2 separate regions of the Homo sapiens genome follow, and region 1 is linked to region 2. Evidence: promoter capture Hi-C in 16 types of primary human blood cells and fetal thymus (Javierre and others, 2016). All regions are on one chromosome and are shown on one strand. The core of a region is centred on a gene start or on the middle of the fragment in contact, and the rest is flanking DNA. Distances in the headings are between cores, read along the strand shown. Region 1 overlaps UXT (ubiquitously expressed prefoldin like chaperone). Region 2 holds the start of OTUD5 (OTU deubiquitinase 5).

Region 1 (3,002 bases), core at 173-2,672, 1.3 Mb after region 2:
GTGTTTTTGTTTTTAAGAGATGGTGTCTCGCTGTGTTGCCCAGGCTGGAATGCAGTGACTGTTTACAGCTGCGATCATAGCATACTACATCCTCAAACTCCTGGGCTCAAGCAATCCCCTTGCTTCAGCCTGCCAAGTAACTGGGACTACAGGCGCACTGCTGTACCCGGCTTTGTGTTTGTTGAAATAATTTGAAAGGGTATGCTGGAAGCATATTAAAGTGGTTATTGAAGCAGATCTGTGTTGGGGGTGATGGGGAGAGAAAATGTGGGCTCCAGTTGAGTTTAAGGCAGGAGTGTCCAATCTTTTGGTTTCCGTGGGCCACATTGGGAGATTTGTCTTGGGCCATACATAAAATACACTAATGCTAATGATAGCTGATGAGCTAAAATAAAAAAGTTGCAAAAAAAAATCACATAATGTTTTAAGAAAGTTTATGAATTTGTGTTGGGCTGCATTCAAAGCCGTCCTGGACCGCATGTGGCCCACTGGTTGCAGGTTGGACAAGCTTGATTTACGGTTTTGTGCAGGGAAGGGCAGTTGGGAGCATAGATGAGGGATTTGAAATGTAGCTAGGGAAGGCCTCCCAGAGGAAGGGACATTTGAATCATTTGACTGAGTGACAAAGCCATGGGGCTATCTGGCGAAGAGCATTCCTGGCAAGAGGAATAGTGTGCCTGGTATGCTAGTGAAACTACCAAGAGAGGTGAGCTTGGTTTCAATGGAATGAGCATGGGGGCACTGAGCAATACACTTAGATTAACAACATCTCACAAGTGTGAGTACCATTGATTTAAACTTCTTTGTTGGTTGTGTTTTGTGTTTATGTCTGTTCTACATTCATTTTTTCCAGAGTTGCCTCCCTTAGAGTTTCAGTAATTTTTATCTTTTCAAACCTTTCCAGCCATGGGAAGGACTAGCAGGTGCTAGTGGACCCAAAAGAACCTCAGACCTGCTGAGATTTCTGATTCTTGGTGTTCAGACCAATTAGCAAATAGTTTAATTAAACGGCCTGCTTTCATGGTCAACACAATTCTGAACTGGTGGTCATTTAGACCAAGTCCACTTTGTTTTTGAGACGGAATTTTGCTCTTGTCGCCCAGGCTGGAGTGCAGTGGTGCGATCTTGGCTCACTGCAACCTCTGCCTCCTGGGCTTAAGGGATTCTCCTGCCTCAGCCTCCCAAGTAGCTGGGACTACAGGCACCCACCACCACTCCCGACTAATTTTTGTATTTTTAGTAGAGACAGGGTTTTGCCATGTTGGCCAGGCTGGTCTCAAACTCCGACCTCAGATGATCTGCCCACCTCAGCCTCCCTAAGTGCTGGGATTGCAGGTGTGAGCTACCGCGCCCAGCTAAAGTCTAGTTTGTATAAGAAGGCTTTCCTTGTTATGTCACAGGATTCCTGAGCCTATCAAATAGATTTTAATGTTTTGAGACTCCACGTACTTCCCCAAAATGAAGTATTTAAATTGTCAGTGCCTGCCCCCTTGCCTGGTCTTTTTGATGTACTGACCTGGTCTGTTAGTGTGATGAAAAATATGGTTGAGTCTTACTGCTTTATTGTAATTAGTAGGACTGTCTAGAAGTTTAATTTTTCTAAGAGATGAAGATTTGAGTCTATGTAGCTGGCTGTCCTTTAAAAATATTTGGTTACTTGGGATATACTTTGAACTAACTTTCTGGTCATTTTATGTGATCAAAAGTGTCAGTTCTTCCTGTTCTTAGTATATTTCTTTGTTTGGGAAGTGGAAGGGATGAAATCTCTATATTCTTTCCTGATGACACAGAAAGGAGTACACATCCACATCTCATGAATAGACATGTAATTATAGAAGAAACAGCCTAACGGCCGGGCGCGGTGGCTCACACCTGTAATCCCAGCACTTTGGGAGGCCGAGGTGGGTGGATCACGAGGTCAGGAGTTCAAGACCAGCCTGTCCAAGATAGTGAAACCCCGTCTCTACTAAAAATACAAAAAATTAGCCGGGAACGGTGGCAGGCGCCTGTAATCCCAGCTACTTAGGAGGCTGAGGCAGGAGAATCGCTTGAACTCGGAGGGTGGAGGTTGCAGTGAGCCGAGATCACGCCACTGCACTCCAGCCTGGGCGACACAGTGAGACTCCATCTCAAAAAAAAAAAAAAAAGCATAACCATATGACTATTCACACTGCCTTACATACTAAATCAGTAGTAATTTGCTTCTCACATAGCAAATAAAAATAAATCAGCAGTAATAAACATATCCCTTTTGTGTTACAGCTAGCATTTGGTGAACTCTGTATTTTTCTCCCTTTTAAAGTGTTGAACTCATAGGTTTTCATAAGGTAAGCTTACACCATTAACTAATTTTGTTCTCTTTTTTGATGTTAAAATTGTCCCTTAGGAGCTGATCAGGTTCATTCTTCTGTTCTTTAAGCATTACCCCCAGAATATTCTTGAAAGTATTCTTGCTCTCTGGCAACAACACCCATACTTCATTTATTTCCTGTCCCTAAACATACACTCAGCCAACCTCAGGTTCCTTTTAATGGAGTAGTCACTTATTCATTCAACATACGTTGGGTGCCTCCTCTGTGCCACACACTGTTCTGGTCCCTGGGGATAGAGCAGGAAACAAAAAAAAACAAAATCTGCCCTCATACAGCTGACATTCTAGTCAGGGGAGACAAACAATAAACAAATGAATGATGTAGTATGTCAGATGTTGACAGTGCTATGGAGAAAGCATATCATGGAGATCAGAAGCATTACCTGCAATGGAACAGTCATGATTTTAAGAAGAATGGCTGACTGGATGTGAAGTGTGAGAGAGAGGAGCCCAGGTTTTTGGCTGAGCAACTGGAGGGATGGAGTTGCCATTATCTGAGATGGAGAAGTTAGGGGAGGAGTAGATTTGGAGGGGAAGGTCAGGAATTTAGTCTGGAACCTGTTAAGTATGAGGCACTTATTAAACACTGAAGTGGATTTTTAGAAGATGTCATTAAAACTAGTCAAGTTCA
Region 2 (3,147 bases), core at 339-2,838:
AGCGTTCTATAAAAAAGTAAACAACAACAACAAAAATTGAGGACGGGGTGGGTTTTAAATGACTGACAAAGATCACTCAGACAGGAAGGGCAGAGCTAGGATTAGCGTGTAGCTCTCCAGCTACTCAATAGCAGGGATTCTGCCAACCCCATTTTGAGACGCTGACTGGTGACAGAGCTTTCATAAACCTCGATCGACCCAAGCAAACTCAGTTTTAGAAAAAGGCTGGGCTTGGCCAGGCGCGGTGACTAACGCCTGTAATCCCAGCACTCTGGGAAGCCGAGGCGGGAGGATCGCTTGAGCCCGGGAGCTGGAGATCAGCCTGGGCAACATAGTGAGACTTTGTCCCTACAAAAAAGTGAAAAAAAAATTAGCCGGTCGTAGTGGTGCGCGCCTGTGGTCCCAGCTATTCGGGAGGCTGAGGCGGGAGGATCGCTTGAACCTGGGAGTTGGAGTTTGCAGTGAGCTATGATCGCGCCACTGCATTCCAACCTGGGCGACAGAGTGAGACCCCTGTCTCAATTAGGAAAAAAAAAAAAAAAAAAAAAAAAAAAGGCTGGGCCGCGCCTGCGCACTAGCCATAGGGGCGGGGAGGTCAACGCGAGGCCGAGAGTGCTGTGGTGCCAGAGAAGGCGTGTCTGTTTCCCAAACAACCACTGTCCCCACGGCGCCTGTCTGTCCCAAGGTTGGTCGGTATGCCGCGAGTGACGGCGTCTCTTAACCAATCACCGCAGAACTCAGGCTGTTGCCGGGGCGAAGCGGTGTCCGCCTCCCCCGGAAGGGTATTTGTAGGTGGGTGGGACCGGAAGTGACGCTACAGGGGCCAGCTATGCTCCCGGGAGTGTTGATGTTTTCCAGTCATTCCGGCTGACAGCGTTCAAGTTGGAATCCTGGAGGGGAGGTGTTTTTCCTGTCGTACGTGGGACAGGCCACGCTGTCCGTCCGCAGTACCGACGCCTGCAGGTCAGAGCTTCGGGGAGAAAAGTGAAGAGCAAGACGGAACTGACGGGGAGAAAGGCTGGGAACCAGGGTGTCGACTTTGACTGAAATTTGAGACGGAGGGCACCGGAGGGCGAGCACTCGCCTGTGATTGGCCCGTGGGCGTCGTCGAGGTCCCACGCAGCTGCTCAATTGGTTGGTGTTGCAATTGTTGTGGCGGCGGCGGCGGCGATTTTGCCCACGTACTTCCGAGTAAGGGGCGGGGCTGTGCCCTGGCGCGCGTGCGCAGCGCCCCGGGGCCCCACCCGGTAGTGCAAGAACCTGCGAGGGGGCGGAGCGAAGAGGTGCTTGTTTTGGTTCTGTTTCCTTTGAAGCAGAAGGCCGGAACAAGCGTAGCAATAAACTTGCTGGACTTGGAGAGAAGGCTAAGACAAACTCGCCGCACTGCCTTCATCTTGGACTTTACATCCGGGTTCTCCTCTCGGCGTGACCCGCGCGCCGCCACCGCCGCCGCCGCCGCCGCCGCCTCCTCCGCCGCCGAGGGTTCTCGAACCGGTGCCGCGATCCCTTTATCCGGGTCTCGCCGTTCCCGTCGTGCCTCGCGCACTACACTAGCCCCCTCATCCGGGTTCTCTCCCGGCGTGCCCCGCGCCGGGTTTGTTGGGGGGTACTCGGCAGTGCAGCCATGACTATACTCCCCAAAAAGAAGCCGCCGCCTCCCGACGCCGACCCCGCCAACGAGCCGCCGCCGCCCGGGCCGATGCCCCCGGCGCCGCGGCGCGGCGGAGGTGTGGGCGTGGGCGGCGGCGGCACGGGCGTGGGCGGCGGCGATCGCGACCGTGACTCCGGCGTCGTGGGGGCCCGTCCGCGAGCTTCGCCACCGCCTCAAGGCCCGCTACCAGGACCGCCGGGCGCTCTTCATCGCTGGGCGCTGGCCGTGCCGCCTGGTGCAGTGGCGGGTCCCCGGCCACAACAGGCTTCTCCACCTCCTTGCGGGGGCCCAGGTGGTCCCGGCGGCGGTCCCGGCGACGCGCTGGGCGCAGCGGCGGCGGGTGTGGGTGCCGCGGGCGTGGTGGTGGGTGTGGGTGGTGCCGTAGGCGTGGGCGGCTGCTGCTCCGGGCCTGGGCACAGCAAGCGGCGACGTCAAGCTCCCGGGGTTGGCGCGGTTGGCGGGGGCAGTCCCGAGCGTGAGGAGGTCGGCGCAGGCTACAACAGTGAGGACGAGTATGAGGCGGCTGCAGCACGCATCGAGGCTATGGACCCTGCCACTGTCGAGCAGGTAAGAGCTGTGGGGTGAGGGGTGAGCGGCCACGGCAGATGGGACCCCCAGACTGTGAAGGGACTCAAGGAAGGCTGTTTGAGATCGCCCCAAGGGATCTAGGCGTTTTCACTGGGCCTGACAGTCTTCTCTGGCGGTAGGGATGTGAGACACCTTCTTTCCTCCCCTCCAGGATTTTGGGGCTAGAGGCCTACGGTAAGGTGTCAGACTTAAAGATCCGAGGTCTCTTTTAAGGTCTATAGTCGTCATTCCAGTCCCTGGGACCTCATCATATAGGGCCAATAGGTGGGAATTCTCCAAGAGATACAGGTAGGATCGCGCCCCTCTTGAGTAGGAGTCTCAGGTCTCCCAAGAGACTTAGGTATGTGTTCAGTGGCTTAAGAGCTCTTTTCCTCTGGGATAGAAGTTTGAGATTCCCCTTCCAGGAAAGTCAAATAAGGTGGAGACCTCGGAGATCGGGGCTGAACATCCCCAAGGAGCCTAAGCCCTTTCAAGAGTCTGAGACACTCTGCATATAGGACAATCCTCTCCCGCTTCGCTGGGTAACACTGCACAGGACCACTGAATAGCCAGACCTGAGACCTCAAGGGTCCTAAGTCTGTCTTCAGGGGCCTGAGAGTCCTGCTTCTAGAATCAAGGTCCTGACACACACACACACACACACGCCCCCTTTAAGGATAGGGATCTTCTAAGCTTTTTCCAGGGATGTAAGACTTTTCACAGGGAGATATGATTCCCTTGCCCTTGGGGACAGGGACCAAAACCAACACCCAATGACCAGCAGCTTTACTTATCTCCTTTCTGAGTGACAAAGGTCTGCATTTCCTATCAGTGGCCTGAGACCTACCTCTTGGGAGACAAGGGCCTGAACCGCTTCAGGATCTTAAGCTTCTTGTAAGAAGAGATGGGCCCTCAGCACCCCCACCAGG

The links. Contacts are between HindIII fragments. The CHiCAGO score rates a contact against its expected background, and 5 or more counts as called.
Region 1: a fragment that was not itself captured here is called in contact with the fragment with the promoter of OTUD5 in region 2 in 1 of 17 cell types (neutrophils); the score reaches 5.6 in neutrophils.

The regions. Positions count from the first base shown.
Region 1 is chrX:47,653,354-47,656,355 of GRCh38, reverse strand. All of the region lies in intron 5 of UXT (ubiquitously expressed prefoldin like chaperone), which reads left to right. Among named protein-coding and RNA genes, the nearest start is that of UXT-AS1, 4.0 kb to the left of the region's middle. The HindIII fragment of the contact is 1,824 bases long and covers 511-2,334 here.
Region 2 is chrX:48,956,048-48,959,194 of GRCh38, reverse strand. OTUD5 (OTU deubiquitinase 5) reads left to right here and starts at 1,588. Exons shown (of 9, transcript NM_001136157.2): 1 at 1,588-2,218. The coding sequence starts at 1,625. It also overlaps the pseudogene RNU6-722P. RefSeq lists an enhancer at 842-1,031 and silencers at 1,132-1,291, 1,492-1,541, 1,912-1,971. The HindIII fragment of the contact is 4,109 bases long and covers 1-2,913 here.